2 separate regions of the Homo sapiens genome follow, and region 2 is linked to region 1. Evidence: promoter capture Hi-C in 16 types of primary human blood cells and fetal thymus (Javierre and others, 2016). All regions are on one chromosome and are shown on one strand. The core of a region is centred on a gene start or on the middle of the fragment in contact, and the rest is flanking DNA. Distances in the headings are between cores, read along the strand shown.

What was found. Contacts are between HindIII fragments. The CHiCAGO score rates a contact against its expected background, and 5 or more counts as called.
Region 2: a fragment that was not itself captured here is called in contact with the fragment with the promoter of ARFGEF1 in region 1 in 4 of 17 cell types (non-activated CD4 T cells, total B cells, monocytes and 1 more); the score reaches 8.5 in non-activated CD4 T cells.

Annotation. Positions count from the first base shown.
Region 1 is chr8:67,339,861-67,347,647 of GRCh38, forward strand. It overlaps ARFGEF1 (ARF guanine nucleotide exchange factor 1), which reads right to left and starts at 3,921. Exons shown (of 39, transcript NM_006421.5): 1 at 3,304-3,921. The coding sequence starts at 3,427. ARFGEF1-DT (ARFGEF1 divergent transcript) reads left to right here and starts at 3,974. Exons shown (of 5, transcript NR_136224.1): 1 at 3,974-4,442. RefSeq lists an enhancer at 2,935-3,615 and silencers at 3,542-3,771, 3,952-4,211. The HindIII fragment of the contact is 1,332 bases long and covers 3,320-4,651 here.
Region 2 is chr8:66,103,968-66,111,754 of GRCh38, forward strand. No RefSeq gene overlaps it. Among named protein-coding and RNA genes, the nearest start is that of TRY-GTA5-1, 5.5 kb to the right of the region's middle. The HindIII fragment of the contact is 6,679 bases long and covers 1,606-7,787 here.

The DNA.
Region 1 (7,787 bases), core at 2,671-5,170:
TTGAAAAACGTTTTACATTAACTCTGCATCCCTTTAAAGGTTTATTTTTCTTTCTGTGAAAATAAAAGTTCCTTGAGAAGTCTTTGAGAATGGATTGTTTTAATGAAGTAAAATTTCCCCTAATCTACATGCTGTTTCATAAGTTATACTTTTTGACAAAAAAAAAAGTTTTAAGAATACACAATAAGCTGTAATTTCATGAGTATAGTTTACAGAAAATCCATCTATAATTGGCCATATGTTAAAAGGTAGCTGAATTAATTTTGAATGGCAATACTCAGAAATCTACTCACATGCCAATACAATGATTTTCAAACAAAAAAGGATTAAATGTCTGACATACTATGTATTTTCCTGTTAACTGTCCATCTCCCTTCAGCTGTATGCTCAATAAATATTTGGGGAAAGAATGAAGACAGACAGGTGGGTATTTAGAAGGGTTATAACACCACCCACAAAATGATCTCTGTATCTTCACCATCCAACACCTACCCACTCACAATCTATAGAACCGAGAGGACTAAATCAGGCCTTTTCAGTTTGCTTTCCCATCCTGCTTAATGGCCACATAGATTACCAACAGACCAGAGCGGGCCTGGCCCAGGTCTCAATAGTGAAGTGGAGAAGATAAGTCTCTAACGGTCTTCAAGGACAATACATTTGTGGGAATACCATCTTCCTGCAAAATATACTTTCTGCAAAGACAAAATGAGTTATGCTTATCAATTTATGTTTGGGTGGTGATGTAGATAGACTGCAAGGGAAGAAACAAAGTTCACCAGGGATTAGCTACCATGAGATTACTGAGATTTTGCTTTGTTGGAGGCTAAATGTAACTTTACGAAATGTGGGAAAAAATGCCTCATACATCTCAAGTAAATAAAGTACTGTGGTGCCTAGCCCTTCCCTGGATAGTCACATTCCTCGTAACAAGCTTCTATTGAGTATACAGAAGGGACAAAAAAGTAAAAACTGTCAAAATCTGGAATAGACAACCCTGGTACAGTTGGCACACATATCAAGTAATCCCGACCTCCAGAAATGGCAAGGACCATTTAGAGCGCTATAGGCCCTCTAAAGATGATGCTCATGAGTGGTAGGGAATACCCAATGCACGAGTTAACAGGACAGTGCAATCACATTTATGGCACATTAGAGGAGATGTGACCATACAATCATTAAGTTCAATACCCTAATTTTACAGAGAACTTAAGGCCCAGGGACTTGCCTAATACTACAACGTAACAGAACTGGGATTTAAACCTAGGATCTCAGACTCTCATTCCAGTAGGCTCTCCATTAAAATATGCTTACTTATGTTACTACTTTGGAGAAGGAAAATATATACATACACACAACACACTCCATTTCTTCAGTTTGATACTTACAATTTAATGTATTAAAAATATGTTGTAACATGAAAAATCTGAATTATAAAAAATTAAGGCCAGGAGAGGTAGCTCATGCCTATAAACTCAGCACTTTGGGAGGCCAAGGTGGGAGGCTCTCTTCAGCCCAGATTTGGAGACCAGCCTGGGCGATATAGAGAGACCGCCATCTCCACCAAAAAAAAAAAAAAAAAAAAAAAATTAGCCAGGTGTGGTGGTGTGCCTGAAGTCCCAATTACTTGGGAGGCTGAGGCAGGAGGAATGCCTGATCCTGGGAGTTTGAGGCGGCACTGAGCACTGATTGTGTCACTGCGCTTCAGTCTGGGTGACAGAGCAAGCCCCTGTCTCAAAAAACAAACAAAAATTTAAAACTTTAATTTGAATCTCTCTAAAGTTCTTCAACCTTCAAGTAATTTACAAACCTACATATAACAATTCTTTTAAAAATCCTGAAATCACTTTCTCCCCAGTCTCACTCCAATTTAATATTATTCCTTTCAGGATCTAGATATAAATACAGTTTTTGCCACTAGACAACTGTCTTCTCATACACCGGGAACAGTCTTTTGTTAGCTACAAAAATAACAAAATGCAAACTTCTGGTCGATAAGTAAGGTGAAAAAATAATCTTAAGCCCCTAATACTACACATTCAAATGTTTTAAGATGAAATTTCTTCGACGTTTTTCATATTACCAATTTTAACGATCTAGGAAAAAAAAACTACAGTATATTACAGCAAATTAAATGGTAGTCTTCCATTTAATAATTAAAAGCTAATTTTAAGTTGTCTAGACTCCTTAACTCTAGCATACTTTAAGTTATTGTGGATTTTTCCCCTTTCAAGAATGCTTTTTTGTAAAGCCCATTTAACAAGCTTCCTTTTCTTGCCAATTTGACCTAGTGTATTTCCAGTGCTATAAAGTGTAAACATTAGGAATGTATCTTTGTGTTAAATGTTCTGGTCTCTCAAACGATTTCAACTTTGATGGATGCAATAGATCTAACAATGTTCCCCCTTTAACAACTCCTCATCTGCCTAACCTCATAGGTAGGAGGTATTGTTTGGATTTTCCCTGCTGCGGGCTTCATTACACTAGATCTCTTCCATCTGAACTATAAATCACAATTCAAGCTTGAGAGCAGCTGCCACTGTCCAGACATGTGGCTGGTGGGTGTCATTGTCTTTTTCATTTTCCTCATTTCAAACCCTCCCTTCCCTTGTCACCTAAAGCCATTTTATCTAAAGGTTCTTTGCTTCCCTGCTTTCATGCCGCCACCCCCACCCTCACCCCTTAACCACCGGTCTTGTTCTTCCAGGTCAGCCCAGTCAGATACAATATTACTCTATGTTTTTCCTGTGGCGGAGGCGGAGAGATGTCAGAACGGGCTGCACCTCTTGCAAACCCCTTCTCAAGACTGTCAACAAGGAAACAACTTCAGCAGCCTATCTCCCCAAAGTACCTCGCCAAACGAAAAAGTTATTGTTAATTATGATACGGAACCTTTCCCACACCCAATCTTGACATACCAGCCCCACCTCAATTTCCAAGCTAATAAACAACAGCTCATCTTCTGCTTCATCACAAAGGGTGGTATCCAGTCCGCACCTCACGGACCACCAACAAAATCCTCTCACTCTCAAGTCGATCCCTCGAACCCAGGTGCCCCGCGATCCTAAGCCCTGCCGCGTTTCCCGAGCCCAGCTCACTGCCCTTCCTCCTCTACCCCGCCTCTGCCCCACATCCAGCCGAGTTCCTGTCAACTCCAGACAGGGAACAGAGGGCTCCGCGAGGGCTTCCCGAGGTCAGAGGCGCGGGCCTCGGGCAAGCCCCGGGCGACCCCACCCCCCCACAGGCGCCCCCCTCCCCGCCCCACAACAAGCACCCCATCCCCCGGGCCTCCTCCCCGCTCACCTAACGCCACCTCGCAAGCTTTGCGCAGCTGGGAGTGATGCGCCTTCTTCACTTCCTTGTCGGCCAATATCTTCTCCAGAGCCCGGGTCAGGAACATGTTCTTCGTCTTCTTCCCCTCATACATGGACGCAGAGAAGGAGGCGGCGGCTCGTCCGACCCGCGGCTCCCAGCGGCTGGAGGGGAGGAGGAGGAGAGGAAGGAAGAGAAGAGAGAAAGGAGAGGGGGTGGAGGTGGGGGATTGGAGGCGTGGAGGGCAGCGGCAGGATCAGGAAGGGGCGGGCGAGCGGGACCAGCCGCGGTGTCGGCGAAGGGCGTCGAGGTCCTCGCCGCCCCCAAGAAGCCGTACCTCGAGGGCCGCGCCCGTCGGGCCTCCGCTTCTCCCGGCCCGGGGGTCGCGTCCCGGCCGCCCCTCTCACTCGTCCCTCCGGCCCTGGTGGCGGTGAGGGAGCCCGGCCCGGGCGGCTGTCTGCCGGGAACTGAGGGACGAGGTGGCGGCGGCTCTCAGAGGCACCGCGAGAGAAGGGCTACCCTGGCTACTGTGGGGATTAGCACCCGCCGCGGCCGCGAACTGGCCCCCATCACCGCCGACCTGCCCCGGCCGCCATGTTGGGAGGAAACGACGCGTCACGCAGCGGCCGAACGGCTGCAGACGAGGAAGCGGCGGCGGCGGCGGCGGCGGCGGCGCTCCCTGCCCAGAGCTGCCGCGGCGCCGGGAGGCTGGGGGCGGAGGGCGGCGCGGGAGGAGCGGCCCGAGCCGCAGCGCTACGGCGGCCCGGCGGGGCCTCCAGCGTTCGCCTGCAGGGCGGCGTGGGGCGTGGCGGGCCTCTGGTGGCACCGCGCCCAGCACTTCGGGCTCTTGGTGGCGGCCGAGCTGCGGGACCAGAGATCCCCCCACTCGGCACCCCTGCTCCTGCCGAGTGAACAGGACTCCTGGCTACTCTGCACTGGCTTTCTAACTTTCTGATGGGGGTGCAGTCCTTTGCATTCCAGGGGTCACAGCAACACCCGCATCGCCCGTTCTCAGCCGCAGGGTCTCCGCCTGCATCACTCGACTCTAAAATTTCCTTCCCTAGTGCACGGAACTGCTGTCCAGGACTCTGCTCTCCGACTACCTCAGGGAGGATTCTGTTTTGGGAAAAGTAAGCCAAAACCTATTGATAAGGGTTCAAAAATGTTTCACTTTTTTCTCTCTCTGTCGGATAAATCGGTCAACTCTAGATTTCAGGTCCCTTCTGAATTGACTCAGTTAAGGTGAATGGTTGTGAATGAGGTCCCTTAGAGTTCTGTGTTTCTGTGCCTTTAATACTAAGATTTAGTCCAGGACATGTAAACCAGTTTAGAATGGAAAAGCTTTAAGTACAAACAGATTAACACACGTGACCATGTGTTTGCTTTAGTCTGAGTGTAGAACTCAAATTTCTGCAGTATTTAATTTCTACAGTTTCCTTCTGAGCAGAAAAAGAATACCATAAAAATATTTGCAAACATTATATATGGTGATCTAGGGTCACGTCTCCAAGTTCTAAGCTTCTGTGGCTCCACGCACACAGGTTCCCTAATGTTTACTATGCATCTGTCACTGTTCTGTTCTATTAGATTGCCTTAACTATAGGCTTGTCCTAACGTAACCATCCAAACCTAAGGAAGGAGAAACTTAAGTGACTCTGTGAACTTAGTGAAGTGACCAGATTTAGGAAGGCTAAAACCCAGAGGAAATAAAATGGAAAACTTGAAGGTGACAAATTAAAGTGGAAAAATAGATTAATTTTTTTAAACTTTATTGTCCTGAGAAACAAATCTATAAATTCATTAATTTTATTTTAGAGACTATCTCTAGATTCCTGGAAATGAAGGATTCATTATACTCTTAGATCAGATATAATACTGATTTCTGTGTATACGTTAATAAACTTTTTTAGAACAAGTTCCATTTCTTTTATTTTTTTCTTCCCTTCTTTCACAGGTGTTGATCCATTTCTAATTCATCTTTGTTTCTTCATAATGGAGTGTTGTGCCAGGTACTGTTGAGGGTACTAGCTGATCACCAAACCCATTTACTCTTCTTTCTTAGTATAGAATTGCATTGTCCAGCCTCCCTTGAAGTTAGGTGTAGCCATCCAGGCTTAACCTATTGTTAAAAAACCAACAAGAAATTCCCACAAGCAATCTTTCATGCTGTTTCCCTTTTTTTTTTTTTTCTTTTGGTAGAGATGGCATCTCACCATGTTGAACTCGTGGCCTCAAGCGATCCTCCTGCCTCAGCCTCCCAGTGCTGAGATTACAGGCATAAGCCACCATGCCCAGTCTCTCTTTTCCCTTCTATGGCCACAGCTGAAGATGGCAGAACCACAAGTTAGGAGTCTTAGTTTCTGAATTGGAACTCTTGGAGAAGAACCATCTAGAATAACTATTTTGTACTTTACATGAACGAAGCAGACTCTTCGGTTATGTTTAGCTGTCAGCTTTATCGTAAAACATACTTGGGATTCATTGATGAACAAGACAAGCTGGCACCTGTAGTCCCAGCACTTTGGGAGGCCAAGGCAGGAGAATGGCTTGAGGCCGGGATTTGCAGATGAAACTGGGCAACGTAGCAAGACACTGTCTTTACAAAAAATAAAGAAAAATTAGCCAGGCACGGTGGCATCCACCTGTAGTTGCAGCTGCTCAGGAGACTGAGGAGGAAGGATCGCTTGAGCTCAGGAGTTCGAGGCTGCAGTGAACTATGATATGATAGTGCCACAGCATTCATAATCATCTCATCTGCTTGCCTTGCTTGTTGATTGGTTGCATGTTTCTCTCATAAGTGCAGGGACCTCATATCTCTGTCTATTCACTTCTGTGTGCCCATCATCTATTATATTGCTGGCATAGAGAAGGCCTTTGCTATAAACTTATAGAAACTTGGATAAATGAAAGGCACCAGGCTAAGACAAGCATGATACCTGCCCTTTTGGACCTTACAGTATAGAGTAGGGAAAAGATATTAAGTCAGTAGTGAATATACAATTACAAATCTGTTGAGTATGATTAAAGAATAGAGTGCTGTGAGAGAAGGGAGAAGTAAATTAAATTGAGACCTGAAAGAAGAGTAGACATTAGCCAAACTAAGTCATGAAGAACTTTCCAGGCAAAGTCTCTTGGGGTAGGGGGAAGCTTGGCAAGTTTCAGGAAACAAAACAAGGCAGTGTGGCTGAAAGGATCAAGGAGAATGGTGCCAGTCAGGATGAAGAGGGAGCTAGGAACCAGATCATTCAGACTCTCGTAGGCCATGTTAGGGGGTTGCAATTTCATCGTAATAACAATGGAAATTCATTGAAAGGTTTTAAAAGTGGGGGATAAAGTGATCAAATTGGTGATTTTAAAATAATCCCTCTGTTACATGGAGAATGGATTGGAGGGGGAGAAGTGAGGATGTGGCAAAACATTTTAAGAAATTTATTACAACAGCGCAGGATGGCTTGGTCAGGTCCAGGGCCACCAAGCAAGGTTGTGGAGATCGTGGCACAAGGGAGCAAGTGTGGCTGAAATCCAGCCCCACTGTCTGCCCAAAAGAAGAGGCTTCTTTCACTAATTTGCATAAAGGTTAGCCCAGAAATGACAGTGGTAGCATGGAGATGGAGCAAAGTAGACAGATTTGGGATATACTTTGGTGGCAGAATAAACCGGACTTAATTAACTGGAGTGCAGGTTAGAGAGAGAAAGAGGTCACAAATGAATACCAGGTTTCTGCTGGGAACCAGTGAACAGTTGGAAATGCCATTTGTAGAGATAGGCTAGATGGAAGATTTGAGGGTAAAGAGTGTAGTTGTCAGTTTCAGAAGAATAAACTCCTCTGAGATATGACCTAACCCTCCCAGAAGGAATGATTTGCATCTTCCTTTGGGAGGACAACTCATCCTCTTCCCTTGCTGGGTTTACCCAAAAGGTGGTGGTGCTTGAGGGTGGAGGGGGGTAGGAGTAGTCTTACGAGATGGGCACTCCTATCCACTTGAAACTCAAGATACTAACTCAGACCTGTAGCAAAAATAGAGTAAGACTCTAGAATAAAGCTGATGCTCTTGGATATTTTCAATCTTTTATTGACAGGTACACAGGGAGTGGCAAAGGAGATTTTTACATGAAATTATGAGTACAGACCAGGCACTGTGGCTCATTCCTGTAAACCCAGCACTTTGGGAGGCTGAGGCGGGTGGATCACCTGAGGTCAGGAGTTCAGGACCAGCCTGGCCAACATGGTGAAACCCCGTTTCTACTAAAAATACAAAATTAGGTGGGCGTGGTGGCGGGTGCCTGTAATCCCAGATACTCAGGAGGCTGAGATAGGAGAATCGCTTGAACCCAGGAGGCGGAGGTTGCAGTGAGCCAAGATCATGCTGCTGCACTCCAGCCGGAGCAACAGAGTGAGACTCGATCTCAATTAAAAAAAAAAAGAAAAGAAATTATGAGTACATTCCCCTGTATATATATATTTTTTACTTTTT
Region 2 (7,787 bases), core at 3,695-6,194, 1.2 Mb before region 1:
GCTGCTTAATATAAGTTAACTCATGTAATTCACACAGCAACCCTATGAGGTAGGCACAATTACTATTTCCCATTTCACAGATGGGAAAATTGGGCAGCAGAGAGTCATTAATTAACTCAGGCTGTTAATAATGGGAGAGCCAGCATTTGAACTCAGCTAGTCTGGTTGTAGCATCTGTCTGCTTAATTACTATGCCACCTTGGTGCCCTAAGACATATCTGAATTCTGTAAACTTGGATTTACAACTGCTTATTTAATGTCAAAATAGTGTATACATTGAGTATGTTCTAATTTGTCCCTCTCACCAAAAGTGGATACCATAAGCTTATAAATCCAAGTTAATACAATTTGCTCTATTATTCTGAGTCCATAAGATTGGGGTGGGAACATTTGTTACTATATATAAAAATAAGGCATCTTAATATCACTCATACAATTAGAAGTAAAATATTTTCATGTTATCCATTCATAATAAAAGTGAAATTCTACCCAATTTCTCCATTGTACAAAATATGATACAAATTATGAAGTAAAAATATACCATTGAATCTGCCAGACTACTAAATTAGCAATGCTTTATTATTTTTCATAGTATTATACAAAGGAAATACAATTTGCAAATTTTTAAAAAGAACTTTGTTGCCATTTAAAATAAAGAACGTGTGTATGTTCATGTGTATGAATACATTTGTGTGTGTATATGTGTATGAATATATGTGTGTGGTGTGTGCATGTGTGTATATATACATAGATGTCTATATACCATAAGCAATTTATTTTGCTTCCGGTCATCTGTGTCATTTTGCCATTATAGGAAGCACAACACCTGCCACACTCCTGCTCTACTGTGCTTTATTTTTCTCTTTGGCATTCATTACTGTACAGCCTACTGTATATATTATTTATTGTCTTCTTATTGTCTATTTACCCTTCCAGAATGTGTGCTTCACCAAGATAGAGATTTCTGTCTGCTTTGCTTACTGCTGTATCCTTATCCTCAGCTCTAGAACAATGCCTAGCACATAGTACAGACTAAATAAACATTTAAATAAAAGAATAAATGTGAGTCTCTGAAGAAAACCTCCTGGCCACACCCTCCCACCACCACCAATCATACCTTTCGGAAAGATGCTGTATGAGCAAGATGATGCTCCCACTTCCCCGAGCATGGAAGACTGCAAGTGAGCTTTCAGGACTTACAGAGCCCTGGGAATGAGATGGGTTGGCCTTGCCATCTCCCAGTAGTACAAATGTTAACCCCCTTCAAAGGGGAGGTAGGCTGGGGCTTGGTCTCATTAAATATCTTTTGATGTAGTGATTTGGCATATAATTCAGGATTGCATTTGGGTGAATAATGCAGTCAATCTTCATTCCATATTTGTGGAGTTACCTACCTAGAAGAGGACAAACTTTCTTTACACAAACTGTAGGGGAGGAAATACTTCCTTCTGTCATCTTAGGTTCTGTGGCTGGGCCTAAGAATTAAACGATAATAGCATAAAACATATTAACAGGAGAAAAGCATACGCATCTTATTTAATATTTATATGTCCATGGAAGTCTTTATAAGAAAAATGAAGACCCAAAGAAGACATTAGGTCCAAAAGCTTAAGTACCTTTTTAAACAAAGAATGATAAATATTAGGGATGTGGCAAGACAAAGGGGCTTGGTCTGGGTATAGTAGACTGTGGGGTTGTGAGTGGCCAGGGGCATTGTTCAATATCAAAGAATTTTTTTAAAAGATAGTACCTTACTGGCAAGGTACTTCCTGACTTCAAGGATAAAGCATGGATGGAAGCAATCCAGAGAAAGGGTTCTCATTGTCCAGGCCTTCTTGTTGTGCAACCAAAAGACTGGCTGCTGGTGTTTTATCTTTTTCCTTCAAGGCTTGGTTGTTAGCAGCTTCACAGATAAGGGCAGTCTGACTCATAAACCCAATGGCGTTTGCACAAAACAGTAGAGGTAGCCTATCCCTTCCTGCCTTAAATCTTGGGGCTCACTTCTCATCCCTACTAATACATGTCCTTTGTGACATTTTTTTTTCCCAGAATAGGGCATTGTCATCTGCATTAAATACCATTCAGGCAGATCTCTTTTCTCCTCAATGATTTTCTTAATGACATCCAGAAATTCACCTGCTGCCTCTTGGTCAGGAAGCTGCTCTTGTTATCTTGACATTTTTAAAGCCAAAACTGCTTTCTAAAATTATCAAACCTTCCTTTGCTGGCATTAAATTCTCCAGCTTTAGACCCTTCCCCTTCCTTTTGCCTTAAGTTGTCATATAATGACTTTGTTTTTTCTGGAATTATATTAGAGTCTATAGGTATGTCTTTCTTAGAGCAATTCCGTACCCATGTAAAAGCTGCATTTTCAATACAAGATAAAGAGGTTTTTGGCAAAACGTGCAAGGGTTTCATGCCTGCTAGCCAGCTGTAGTGACGGCTTCACAAAGGTCCTTACACTGGATTCATTTATCTTGAAATGCCTGGCAACCACAGCTGTAGACCTCAATCTATGGTCCATATTAAGCAATTCAACTTTTTCTTTTTGGATCAAGACTTTTCTCTGCTTCTTGGGAGCATATCCAGCATCATGAGTGGCACTTCGTATGGGTCCTGTGGTGTTATTCAAGGTTTGTGGTATTTCACTACAATTAAAAAATCCTCGAGACCCACAAGAGATCACTTTTTACTGCCACAGGCAATTTGCTGGAGAGACAAACTGCTCATAGGGAGATTATTAAAGTCACGTACATGGCATTTTAAGCAGATATTCGAAATACTTGAGGTCACCACAGTAGCAATGGGAGGTGGCTATGAAATTATCACAGTAGTACAGTATGTACTATGGTTAATTTTATGCAGCTGTGATTTAATATTGCATCTTTATGTTTATTCACATTTCTTTTAACTGTGCATGGTGCCATGTACAATTTGGGTTTGTATAAGTTTTGAGAAATTTTAACTTCTTAAAATTTTATGGTAATACATGACAAAATAGACTACTATCTACATATATTTCATGCATTCATGATATACCTTTGTCTTAATTTTTTAATATTTGTAGGCTATTTGGCTCATGTCAAGTTTTTTCAAATTGTTGCAGATCTCCAAAAAAATTTCCAATATATTCATTGAAAAAAATCTATGTATGAATGGACCTACCCAGTTTAAATTCTTGTTTTTCAAGGATCAACTGTATTAAATAAGGTGTCCTTCAACAGAAACACACATAAAACAAGATTATCCATTGATCAGTTGACAAAAACATTATGGCCAGAGCCTCCGTTTATTTCCCCTGGGAGCAATGTTTTCAGCATTCACTAAATCAGAGTTCAAAATGACTTTATACAATGTAATTACACGAATAATGAGAATCAAGTGTACCTTCCCTGGAATTCCCCAGAATAGTTCCCTTTCTGACCTAGAAACAACATCTCTGTGGTTTCTCACAAATATCCTTCTTGGAGATGGTGCATATTTAGAGAAAACCATGGATAAGTCAGTAAGCCTGAATACAGCCTTGCTCCCCTAATCTGGATGGTCATCCTAAAGACATTGTTTAATCTTTCTGGGTAGAGCTTCCTGATCTGTAGAATGGTTTCCTTGACTGAAAGGAAAAACTTGAAAGCTCTTTAGTGCACATATGTCTAAGGAATAATTTTTCAAATAAACAATGGCTTTTTTTTTTCACATTTCACGGAGTCTTGACACACCTCCTTGGAGCACTGCTGTTAACAAATTTAAGGGATTTCACCTTTGGATTTAGAGGTGAGAAGAGAATAACCTTTAATAGATGAAACGCTTTTCTACTCCCAGAATGTCCATTTTCTGACCGTACTGGCATCAGAACCTGCCTTTCAACCTCCTTCCTCCCAGAGTAGCAGCTGCCAGCCCAATATCCCTAACCCAAGTGTCCATCTGAGGACAGAGAGACCAAGCAGTGCTACAGAAAGCCCTGGCTGTGATTCAGGAGGCCTAAGATCTCATATGCCACTTCTCCCCTCTGTTACCTTGGATAAGTCATTTCACATATTTGGGCCTCAGTTTCTTCATTCTTAAGCAATTTTTATTACAGAATATCTATAATTAGATGACAATTATGGGACACTCTGACCCATACGTGTTATGTAAAATAACTTACATATGGTTAAACAAAAATGTAATGATGTCAAAAAATGCAGAAACAAAAGCAAATTTCTTCACCATCCCCATATAGTTTGTTAGGGCTATCATAACAAAATATCACAGACTGGGTGGCTTTTAAAAAGATAAATTTGTTTTCTCACACTTCTAGAGGCTAGAAGTCTAAGCTCAAGGTATTGGCAGGTTTGGTTTCTTCTGAGACCTCTCTCCGTGGCTTGTAGATGGCCGTCTTCTCCCTGCGTCTTCCTGTAGCCTTCTCTCTATGCATGCATGTGCCTGCTGTCTCTGTATTCTGTTCTCCTTATAAGGACACCAGTTGTATTGGATCAGGGTGCACCCTAATGACCTCATTTTTGCTTAATTACCTCTTTAAAGGCCTTATCTCCAAATACAGTCACATTCTGAAGTACTAGGGGTTAGGTCTTCAACAAATAAATTGGGGTGGGGAGGGAAGACAGAACACAATTCAGCCCAACAACAAGCATGCCATCAATTTCTCAAAATTGTGCCATATTTCAGTTTGCTTTATATTTGAACCACGTATTTTTTATAAAGTTTTTTTTTGTTTTTTTGTTTTTTTTAGAAATCCCTGAGTATCTTCGTTCTGTCTTTTTGAGAAAAGTGACATGTGCCTTTATCATATCTCTAAGGTCTCCCAGATCCTTAATCACACTACTATTGTAAAAGAATCCGCTTCTTTTTGAAAAATAAACTTCCCAGAGCCCTCTAACTTTTTTTTCCTCCCCTTAATTTGTCCTGATTGCTTTCTTTGCCAGCTGCATCACTGTCAACCTGAGATTTTCTTTTCATTGAGTCCCTGGGTTGGTTTCCTTTTTTCTTAAATCCTGTGTACTCCTCCTTCTTGGATTCTTACTTTGCTTTGCTGAAGTACATCCATGGCATACACAGAGACATGCTGCTAGACTGCCTTTCAAGAAAGAACTCACTGCCCAGCTGCAAGGAGGATGGTTAACTAGTAGCCATCAGGTGTTAACTCCTCTAGCCAAGGTTCTAAGCCTCTGGCCAATGACTGAGCAAGGTGGTGATGCTAGGGCCCCACCATTTCTGCCCAACTTGAGACTCCTCCAAAAGGAAATCTTTGCTCTGGAGCCACCAAGAGGGTTGGCAGAAACTTTGTCGGGTCTGCATCACTGTCTAATGACTACCCCTACCCAATCCTGTGTCCTCCCCTTTTCCATTCACAGATGTTACTCCCCTGTAAAATGTTGTGCTCTAATTCTGCATGAGCTTCAGCTTACTGGAGAACCCATCCAGTACAACATCCTCAAATAATGTTTACTTACTTTTTATTTGTTTCAGAGAGGAATCATAGATTTAAACTTTATGAGACCTTGCAACTATGAACTATTAGTCCTCATATGTGATTGCTACTTTGATTGGCATACAATTCTAGGCTTAAAATTATTTCTTTGCAGAGCTTTGAAGGCCATGCTCAACTGTCTTCTAGCATCCAGTAATGATGATGAGAAGTCTGATCATAATCCAATTCTTATTCCTTTGTAGCTAGCCTAGTTCTTGTTTAGATTTTGCTTTGTTTTCCTCCATCTCTGAAAGTTACAGGGTTTCATCTTTATCCTCAATGCTTTTGAATGTCACTAGGCTGTGTCCAGGCATGGTTATTTTTCATTCATCCTAACTTGCATGATCCTTTCCATCTGATGACCAATGTCTTTCTTTTATTCTTACCCCTGCATTGTCTCTGTTTTCTCTTTCTGGAGCTCATATTAGATACTCTTTATGTCTTCAGGATCTATCTTTTCTTTTTTTTTTCTTTTCTATCTTTTTTTTGGTGTGTGTGTGTGTGTGTGTGTGTGTGTGTGTGTGTGTGTATAACCAGATCTCACTCTGTCCCAGGAGCTGGAGTGCAATGGTGCAATCAATCATAGCCCGCAGCAGCTTTGAACTCCTGGGCTCAAGAGATCCTTCTGCCTCAGCCTCCCAAGTAGCTGGGACTACAGGTAAACACCACCATGTCTAGCTAATTTTCGTATCTTTTGTAGAGATGGGGGTCTTGCTTTGTTGCCCAGGCTGGTCCCAAACTCTTAGCTTCAAGCAATCCTCCCGCCCTGGCCTCCCAAAGTACTGGAATGACAGGGGTGAGCCACTGTACCCAGTGTCATGTTTTTATTTTTTGCTTTCCATGGTCTGATGTCCTGGGATATATTTTCCATTCTATCTTCTATATCTTCATAGCTGATCTTTAGCCATGACCAGTATGTTACTTTTCACCTTAGCAATCATACTTTTAGTATTCAGGAACTCTCTTCTTCCCTAGTTGCTCCTGTTAATATCACTGTATTTTGGTTTTCATTGCTGTAACTCTCTCTTGGATGTCCTTGAGGATATCCCTAACTACTTTTTTGTTAAATAGTTCTGTTCTATTCTTTGCATTATTTGTTTTCTCCTCGGTCATTTATTTAACTTGTTCATCTTGGACTTTCTTTTTGAAGTTGTTGTTATTTCCTCCCAAATGTCTGGTAAACATAACGTGTCCTTCATGATACATTGCTATCTGTAAAAATGGCTGTGTCCTGCGGACTATCAGGCTTTGCATTTATGGTGCATGAGTGGAGAACAGCCATGCTGGCCCAAGATCCTCCAACCTGCCAACTCAAGAAAGAACTCGCTCTGAGAGTTGGGTACGGTGGCCTTCCTGTTCCTTCCATCTCTATTAGGCTCTACTCTGCCCTACTCCCTAGCCCTATACCACTCCACAGGCTCTAGTCTGGCAAATCTACTCTACTTAAGCCATTCTCCAGTGGGATCTCCCTGGCAAAAAATTCAGCAACGGCTGCACAACATTGTGGGCGGCTGACCTCTGTGCTGCTGCCTCTGTGCGTGGAGTCTCTTGTGAGCTCCATGGGGAGAATGGTTTTGTCTCTGCTAGCTTACAGAATGTGCATTTGGAGCTGTGTTTTTCTCCATTATAATCTCATTTGATTTTCACCTTGTAGAAGTTATTTAAAATCTCTATTTGTTACTTATACCTACTGTAGTTTTCCATGTTGCAATAGATTTTTTTTCTTTTGTGTATTTTTATCATCTTTTCAATGTACTCCTGGGGAGGAAGGGGTATAGTCGTATGCGCCCAACCTTCATACATGTAATCCTGATCCCTGGACACAGTGGGTGAGCACCTAAGTGAGGCCAAGAATAATGGAGAGTTTTGCAGTCAGGCCTGAGAAAGAGAAGTGACTCTCTGTGTGATAGACTGTGAAGAATAAAGCTCCAGAACTTTTAGGGTGGGGGACAGCACCATGTTTCCAACTGTGTGCACTAGAGCAGAGCTGAGAAACACTGAGAGAGAAACCTTTAAGAAGGCCTAGTTACATTTCATCTCTGCTTTCCTGGGGACACCCCTGTATCATTAAAATAAATGTCTTGCTTATACTAACTCTTGTGAATTTCTGTCACTTACAAGTAAGAAGGCCAAAAATCACACGTTTGGCCTCCCTGAAACCTATTACTCAAGTAAGGTTGGCTGTTGGGGAAGAGGGCTTGGCTAGGTATGGTAGCTCGTGCCTTAATCCCAGCACTTTGGGAGGCTGAGGCGGGAAGATCACTTGAAGCCAGGAGTTCAAGACCAGCCTGGGCAACAAAGCCAGAGCCAGGTGAGGTGG